Regions from separate parts of the Homo sapiens genome. Here region 1 is linked to region 2. Evidence: promoter capture Hi-C in human tissues and cell types (Jung and others, 2019). All regions are on one chromosome and are shown on one strand. Each heading gives the region's core, a stretch centred on a gene start or on the middle of the fragment in contact. The rest is flanking DNA. Distances are from core to core; before and after follow the strand shown. Region 1 overlaps MAD1L1 (mitotic arrest deficient 1 like 1). Region 2 holds the start of AMZ1 (archaelysin family metallopeptidase 1).

Evidence for each region. The method cuts DNA at HindIII sites, captures the fragments that hold promoters and counts their contacts. A contact is called where the count stands out against the background at its distance.
Region 1: a fragment that was not itself captured here is called in contact with the fragment with the promoter of AMZ1 in region 2 in 1 of the 25 tissues and cell types used here (spleen).

Annotation. Positions count from the first base shown.
Region 1 is chr7:1,992,794-1,997,213 of GRCh38, forward strand. All of the region lies in intron 14 of MAD1L1 (mitotic arrest deficient 1 like 1), which reads right to left. Among named protein-coding and RNA genes, the nearest start is that of SNORA114, 94 kb to the right of the region's middle. The HindIII fragment of the contact is 3,632 bases long and covers 439-4,070 here.
Region 2 is chr7:2,685,015-2,689,568 of GRCh38, forward strand. It overlaps AMZ1 (archaelysin family metallopeptidase 1), which reads left to right and starts at 3,188. Exons shown (of 7, transcript NM_001384743.1): 1 at 3,188-3,282. RefSeq lists an enhancer at 3,887-4,156. The HindIII fragment of the contact is 48,320 bases long and covers 1-4,554 here.

The DNA.
Region 1 (4,420 bases), core at 1,005-3,504, 690 kb before region 2:
GAGGATGGCATGGGCTCTACGTCAGGGAGGCAGGCGGCAGGGGCAGGGGCAGGGGCAGGTGACACCATTGTGGGCCTGGGGCCAGAACGGGATCAGCTTATGGAAGATACACGTAGCTGAGAAAAAGCTTAAGCCAGAAAGGGCCACTGCAGAGACACGACAAGTTTAAATCACAGGAAAATGCTTCGTACTTAGGATGAGGGTACTATATTTCCCCTATACAGAATTACTCCCATAATTTTTCAAGATAAATGAACCGATTTCCTTTCTCGTGGTTATTATAGACTCGATCTAAGTTTCGTGGAGTGGAATGCACGGGGGACTTCACTGCTCTGAGTCTGAAGTGCCCACCTTCTCCTCATCCCCGCCCCCAACGCCCAAAAGATGCCCCCATGGGTCATATGGCAAGTGTGCAGACAGCAGTGACATGCAGGTGACTGAGATTCTAAACCACCCAGGAATAACCCTAGTAAGCAGTGGGCAGGACCCACAGTGCAGGGAGGGCACAGGGCTTCTGGGGGAGCCACAATGCAACCAGCTTGCCTTCCCATGTCAGTCCGCAGACCAAGGCAATGCAAGAGGACTGGCAGGAACCTTGGCAAGCTCCCTCTAAAGTTTACCGGAAAAAACATTGGAGAATATCTAAGATCATTCTGAAAGAGAAAATAACACAAAGGTCACGACGTATCAGACACACTCTGAGGCTCTGCTAGCTCACACACTGTGGCACTGGCCCAGATAGAAAACAAGCTTACGCCTTCCCTCTGCACTGAGATTTTCTTCTGTTTTTTGGAGGAGAAGCAGGGATCCAAATCCTCTACAACCAAGGCTCAGACATTATGCCTGAGAAATCTATTTTCTGGGCGAAGAAACCATCTTCTCAGCTACTTTTTCTAAAATGCAGATGATCCTTACAAGGTAACGACATTAAATCACCAGCATCTTCTCATAAGATCTTTGCAAACTGGTAAAAACTGAAAAGGCTGGGTCCTCACACTGGGAAAGGGGACAGAGGGAAGATGAAGCATCCTCCTCCCACCTGTCCCCACTCAGCACTCGGCAGATGCTTTAAACTCCCCAGCTGAATGCCTGGCCCTGGGCTAACGCTGGAGCCCCAGAAAGCCCTGGGTCCTGTCCTGGTGGATTTCACAGACAGCCTGATATGAGGAAGCCCCTGCAACTGCCCTGGCCACAGGGTCTGGGGTCAGCCTGCCTGGGTGTGAACCCTGGAGCACTCTCCACCACTGCCGGTGCCAACACGGGCAGGTCACTAATCCTGGCTGCCCCTGTTCCTCGTCTGAGTATCTGGGGCCACAACCAGCTTGTGGGTTTGCTGCCAGGATCACAGGGGGATAATCTGTGTAAACAACAAGTGTGTACTCATGACATGGTGAGCAACAGCACACACTGGCTTTGCACGTGCCACCGCCACACCCAGGGCAGCACAGGGACGATGGTGGCGGTGATGGTGAAGGTGCAGGCCCCGTGAAGGCAGGGAGGGAAGAGCGTGTCTGCGATGCAGGGGCAGCAGCACGGGTCCAGCTCAATTCCCAGGGGGCCTGAGGCTCCGCTGAACTGAAAAGACATCCTCAGAGGGGGAGCAGCACAGGGATTGCTTGGAAGGGCGTGAGAAGATGTGCTCAGAGGGTGGGGACATCACCGTAGGCAGGGCAGGCCCATCGGGCACTGAGGGACCAGGCAGAGACCCCCCAGTAGGAGGACTGGGCAGGGCAGTGAGCGCCCACCGGGTCTCACACAGCAGGAAGGAGGTGGGCCCATGCCATGGACTGTGTGCTCCCGCTCTCATGCTGAAATCCTAGGAGGGAGCCCGGGGAGGTGAGGAGGCCACCGGGCGGAGCCTCGGGGGGGGGATTAGCACCCTCATAAAAGGGACCCCAGAGCTCCCTCGCCCCTCCCACCGTGTGAGGACACAGTGAGAGGGCGCCATCTGGAACCAGGAAGCCTCAGCAAACACCAGACCGGCCAGTTCCTGATCCTGGACTTCCAGCCTGCAGAACCGTGAGCAACAAATGTCTGCAAGGGTTTTGTTTTATTTTATTTTTTTAAACAGAGACGAGGTCTCACTCTGTTGCCCAGGCCAGTCTCGAACTCCTGGGCTCAAGATTTCCACCCACCCCAGCTTCCCAAAGTGCTGGGATTACAGGCGTAAGCCACCACGCCCGGCCAACATCTGCTACTTTAAGCAGCCCAGTCTGCGGTGTTCCTGTTAGGGCAGCTGAATAGACAGATGCGCAGCCACAGGGTCTCTGTTCCCTCAGACAACAGCCTAGAAGAGGCACTCAACAAATGCTTGCTGAATTAGACAACTTCCCTCCAATGCAAGAGGCATTTAAAGCAAAGGTTGCTCCATGTGACACCTGCTGTGGCCAGCACGATTCCTTCCACTCTGTGGAGAAGCCTCGGGGGGCACCTCGGGGCACGCACTGAGGATGAGGCTGGACGCAGGGAAACCTGAGCTGGTGAACGGGCAGCGAGCCTGGAACCAGCCCCGGGGCTGCTGAGGAAGATCAGGCCCCTGTTCTCACCCAGAATCACTTCCCAGAACAGCCTGGATCTTCCCAGCACACGAACTCACTTAGCTTTGTGAGACTCCAGGGAGGCTCCCCGCTTCCTCTCTCCACCCTGAGGACCAGGCAGTGAAGCACCTGCCTGTGGCCACACAGCAAGAGAGGTGACAGGTGTGGCTGAGGGAAGGGACCAGTTGTGTGGGATGGAAGGGCGGGCGCAGGAGCCCCAGGCGGGGGGCCCAGGAGAGGCCGCCTCCAGGGCTGGAGAGGAGGAGAGTGAGCTAAGGACACAGTCTCAGACTTTGAGCCATTCCCCAGACCTGCCCCAGACACATCCCTGGCCCCAAAGAGCCTCTCCAAGCTCAGGACACCTGCACACCAGCGCGCGCGGGGACATACATGCTGGTGCAGCGTGAACTGAACAGGTTTCCAGGGACCAGGAGGCTGCCAGCAGCCATACAGAACCCCGGTGCCACCAGCCATACAGAACCCCGGTGCCAGCAGCAAGCCCCTCCAGCATGCCAAGCACGAAGCACTCCAGTCAGAAGTAGCACTTCGTCGTGGAGCAGGATGGGTCCGGAAGGTGAAATGAGGTACTGTCAGTTACCACACCAGGAGGCTCTCATGATCATTCATCTGCAGGCACTGGCCATGCTGCTGGATGTGACCAGACAGATTCCGGGCTGGGCACAGCCATGAGGACCAGCACTGACGAGGGGCTCACAGCTGCCTGGTCCATCTTCAGTAGCAGCACCAGTGAAGATAGAGGCACCAGCCACGCCTCCCGTGTGTGCCGGGCCCTGCCGGTCTACACACAGCTCCTGGGCATGCAGGGTCCCCCGGGTCTACACACGGCTGCTGGGCGGGCAGGGTCCCCCCGGGTCTACACACGGCTCCTGGGCGGGCAGGGTCCCCCCGGGTCTACACACGGCTCCTGGGCGGGCAGGGTCCCCCCGGGTCTACACACGGCTGCTGGGCGGGCAGGGTCCCCCCGGGTCTACACACGGCTGCTGGGCGGGCAGGGTCCCCCGGGTCTACACATGCCTCACTGGGAGTCTCTTCAGGGAAGCTCCGCCGGTGTCCTCAGCCTCCCATGAGAAGCCAGAGGCTCTGAGAGCCACACGGACCACAGGCTCCTGCACAGGAGACCCCAGAGAGCCTAGAGCTTCTTCATGGGCCCACGGGACCTGCCCTGCTCACGGTCGCCAGATTTCAGAATCTGTCTGTAAAGCACCTGCCGCTAGGCCCGACTCAGAGTGGGCCTCGACACCCTTCCCATTTCAGAGATGGACAAAGAAGGGTGGGGGACGGGAAGCAGCCTGTCCGGGCCTCAGTGCTGCTGTAGCCACGGCCCTTGGTGAGGCAGACTTGGCACAGGGTGCCCCTGGGAGCAAGGAGCAGGCACAGAGGGGCCACAAAGGGAAATCAGCAATCAAGGAAGATGCTGCTTAATCAGAGCTGAGAGCGGCGTAATTCCCTCTGAATCGGAAAATAAAGCTTCACTCCTCACTCCCCAAAGTCTATAAAATATTAGAGGATATTTTAGAGCTGAGAGCGGCGTAATTCCCTCTGAATCGGAAAATAAAGCTTCACTCCTCACTCCCCAAAGTCTATAAAATATTAGAGGATATTTTAGAGCTGTAATCAAAAGACTCCCATCTCCAGCCACTGCGGGCCTAGCTAATTAGGGGGGTTCGCTAATGATACGACGATGGCCCAGGAAATCTCTCCTTGCGATATTAATTGCATTTAAAGAAAAAAACATGAATTGTACTTATGCTTACTAATTAGTACGGGTTTGCTAATTAATAATAAGAAAGTCAGAGTGCCTTTGTCTTGTCATTGGCAATTAACTAAAGATTTAAATTTTTCTTTTTTCTCTCTTTTCTCAT
Region 2 (4,554 bases), core at 1,938-4,437:
GCCCGCCACCACGCCCGGCTAATTTTTTGTATCTTTAGTAAAGATGGAGTTTCACTGTGTTAGCCAGGATGGTCTTGATCTTCTGACCTCGTGATCCGCCCGCCTCGGCCTCCCAAAGTGCTGGGATTACAGGTTGAGCCGCCGCGCCCGGCCTCGATGCATAATTTCCTTTCCGGTGGCTATTCAGGGAGGGGCGTGGGGGTTGGGGGGAGGATATTCCACAACTTCTTTGTAATAAGCAGCTTTAGGACAGAACATTCAGGCCAGGCTCGGTGGCTCACGCCTGTAATCCCAGCAATTTGGGAGGCCAAGGCGGGTGGATCACTTGAAGTCAGGAGTTCGAGACCAGCCTGGCCAACAGGGTGAAGCCCTGTCCTTCCTAAAAATACAAAAATTAGCCGGGCGAGGTGACGGGCACCTGTAATCGCAGCTACTTGGGTGGCTGAGGCAGGAGAATCGCTTGAACCCAGGAAGTGGAGTTTGCAGTGAGCCGAGATCGCGCCACTTGTACTCCAGCTCTGGGCAACAGAGTGAGACTCCGTCTCAAAAAAAAAAAAAGGCCGGGTGCGGTGGCTCATGCCTGTAATCCCAGCACTTTGGGAGGCCGTGGCAGGCGGATCACGAGGTCAGGAGATCGAGACCATCCTGGCCAACATGGTGAAACCCCATCTCTACTAAAAACACAAAAATTAGCTAGGCATGATGGCAGGCGCCTGTAGTCCCAGCTACTTAGGAGGCTGAGGCAGGAGAATGGTGTGAACCCGGGAGGTGGAGCTTGCAGTGAGCCGAGATCACGCCACTGCACTCCAGCCTGAGTGACAGAGCGAGACTCCGTCTCAAGAAAAAAAAAAAAAAAAAAAAAAGAACATTCATCTTTTCTCAGGTTCTGGGTTCTCCATCCCCAACAGAAATAACCTGGAAAATCCCTGCGGCAACACGTGTGAAGAAGTGCAGCTTTCTGAGTCACAATCTATTTGTAGGAATTTATCCCAAGGTGAGGGGGACCAGATACCTGTACAAAGATCTGTGGAAACAAGATCGTCTATCACAGTGATATATGCTAGTGAGACACCAGGAGAAACCAAAATATCCCAAAGCAGGTGACAGATCCATGACACGGAGTCCAGCGCAGACCATCAGGGTGTGGAGACGGACTTTTGGCTATTGATGAGTGTGAAGTCACGGGCCGCCTGCAGAACGCAGTATGTGACGTGAATCCCTTAAAATATGTATTTAGGCTGGGCACGGTGGCTCATACCTGTGATCTCAACATTTTGGGAGGCCGAGCTGGGAGGGTTGTTTGAGCCCAGGAGTTTGAGACCAGCTTGAGCAACATAGCGAGATCCCATCTCTACATAAAAGTTTCAAAATTAGCCAGGTGTGATGGCACGTACCTGTAGTCTCAGCTACTCAGGAGGCTGAGGGAGGAGGATTGCTGGAGTCTAGGAGGTCGAGGCTACAGTGACTCGCGTTTATACCAGTGCATTCTAGCTTGGGCAATAGAGCAAGATCCTGTCTCAAAAAAAACTTTTTAAAAATACATTTCAATGTGGAGGAGAAGGCGATCAGAAGGATGTCTGACAAGAAGGTGAGAGAGGTTACCTCTACACAGTTGGCTTATGGGGTCTTCTTTTTGTTTTTATTTTTCATAATTTTCCAAATTTTGCACACCGGACACCTAGTGTTGTGTTGTTTTTCTCTCTCTCTCTTTTTTTTTTGAAACAAAGTCTTGCTTTGTCACCCAGGCTGGAGTGCAGTGGCATAATCTCGGCTCACTGCAACCTCCGCCTCCCGGGTTCAAGTGATTCTCCTGCTTCAGCCTCCCGAGTAGCTGGGACTATAGGCACCAGCCACCACGCCCAGCTAATTTTTTTATTTTTAATAGAGACGGGGTTTGACCATACTGGCCAGGCCGGTCTTGAACTCCTGACCTTGTGATCTGTCTGCCTCAGCCTCCCAAAGTGCTGGGATTACAGGCATGAGCCACCACGCCCAGCCGTGTTATTTCTTAAGGCTTAAAAAAATTCTTTGAGGCTGGGTGTGGTGGCTCACGCCTGTACTCCCAGCACTTTGAGAGGCTGAGGCGGGTGTATCATGAGGTCAAGAGTTTGATACCAGCCTGGCCAAGAAGGTGAAACCCCATCTCTATTAAAAATACAAAAATTAGCTGGACACAATGATGGGTACCTATAATCCCCACTACTCAGGCGGCTGAGGCAGAAGAATGACTTGAACCCCGGAGGTGGAGGTTGCAGTGAGCCCAGATTGCACCATTACACTCCAGCCTGGGCGACAGAGCGAGACTCCATCTAAAAAAAAAAAAAAATTCTTTGCACTGGTGTGGGACGATGGTGACGAATCCCTCAGCCATCTGTGGGGCGCTGCTGAGGGCGTGGGGGGCATTTCTGCACGGTGAAGCAGAGCTGGTGGGAGGCTGCCCGAGGGAAGCTGGTGCTGGGAGGGTTTGCAGAGAGGAAAAGGGCAGTTTATGGAAAAGGCCTCTGGGCTCTGTCTGGAGCCGTCATGCCGGCCTTCACGGCATCCTTCCGCACTTAGAGTCCTTTCCATCTCCTGGTGGCTGGCACAGGGCCAGGGCTGCACTCACAGCTGGCCAGGGTAGGGCAGGGCGCCCGTCCTCAGGGCCACTGACTGTAGGGCTAACCTAGGGGCCTGGTTCACCCCTCTCACCTGGGGCTTCGCTGATAAGCCTGGTTCACCTCCTCACCTGGTGGCCTCGTTCACCCCCTCACCTGGCGCCTTGCCTGATAGCCTGGTTCACCCCTCTCACCTGGGGCCTCTCCTGGTGGCCTGGTTCCCCTTCCTCACCTCGTGGCGCTGGTTCACCCCTCTCACCTGGGGCCTTAACTGGTGGCCTGGTTCACCTCTTCACCTGGCGCCTTGCAGAGTAGCCGGGTTTACTCCTCTCACCTGGGGAGGCACGAACTGGCCCGGGCTGACTGACCTCCCTCACCTGTTTGGCTTTAGGCTCTGGGGCCCCCCTGCCCGGGTGTTTCTGGGAGGCTGGAGGGTCCCACGTGAGCTCCACCGCGGGCAGCTGGAGGGAGTGGGGCAGGACGCTGAGCGCCGGGAGGGGTGTGGCCCTCCTGTCCTGCCCGCGGCCCCACACCGGCCCCAGTCCCGCCCGCCTCGGTCCCTGCCCCGCGCGCCGACGTCACCGGGACCTCCCGATCCTCCCGGCCCAGGCCGAGCTGCCCACGCTGCTGCCCGGGGCTCGGTGCCCGGCGCGGCCTCTGCCGGCTCCGGCGGGCGCGGGACTGCGAGGTAGGGGGGCGCGCGGGGAAGACTCGGGGGCGCAGGGACCGAGAGGGACCTCCGTGCCGGGGCGGGTGGGTAGGGGCAGCTCCGGGTCCAGCCCGGCCCGCGCACCAAGTCCCGAGGGCGCCCGGGCGGCGGCGGCTACGGGCGCGCGGGGACCGCGGAGACGCGAAGGGCGCACTTGGCGAGGGTTTGGTGCAGCGCCGCGCCGGGGTCCGCACAGCCCCGGCAGGTCCTGCAGAGGGAAGGCCGGGCCAGGGAAGGGCCACGCGCCCCCTCCCCGCCATCCTCTCCCAGGCCAGGGCGACCTGCGCGCTTCCCGATGGGAGCAAACTGGGGACGGGTCGGGAATCCAGGGCCAAGCGCCCGAAAGAAGGCGTTTCCGGGCTGGGGCGAGCCAGGTGGGTGCGGGACGTCCCCGGGGAACCTCCAGGGCGCCGAGAATCTCGTCGTGCCCAGGGCTCCCCGCAGCCTGTGTATGAGCCGGGGAGGGAGAAGGCTTCCTCCCCCAGGAGACTGAGGGAGAAGGCTGTGGATATGATCCCTGCAGGGATGTAAGACAGGTCTCAAAACCAGAAAAGCAAGGGAGGGGTGACAGAGAAATGGCAAACTTTACAAAGGACAGGGGAGGGCAGGGACCTGGGTCCTTTCTGCCCCCATCACGGGAGGGAAACACTTGGCAGAGGAGTTTGGGGTTCGCAGGTGAGGAGAGAGAACAGGAAGCCAAGAGTCTGGCCCGGAGGCCACTACCCCTGCGGTCTAAGCCCCCGGTTTTCCCTCCTAGCGAATGGAAACTGAGAGGTGAGAAACCCCCAAAACCATCCGTCCGTCTGGTTCTGCCTGAAGGTCTCCGCTGTCAGCTAATGAATAGCTCGATGCAGCTGCTGGGAGGTTTTGCAAAGCGCATTCAGAATAGCGAGAATCAGAGCATGGTTTCTTGCCCAAAGGCCAGGCATCTGCGTGGTCAGATGGGGGAGCATGAGTGCCCGGAGCTGTGCGGTTTAGGGCAGCCTGACCTTGGATACCTGGTTACTGGGCCAGTCTGGCGGCCCTTGTTGCTTAGAGCGGCAGAACCTCCCTGGGGGGGGGATGCGGACGTGCTCTTTTCCAGTCTTTGGACAAAAAAAGGCAAGGGGAGGAGGAAGGAGAAGCGTCTGAGTTTACCCATGGTATTAATAGCAGCAGGGCTGGAACTCGGGTGCTCTGGGAGAGGAGACGTCCTACCCCCTGTCCCCGTCAGAACATCCCTGCTCCAGGAGCAGCTGGGGTTCCAGTGTG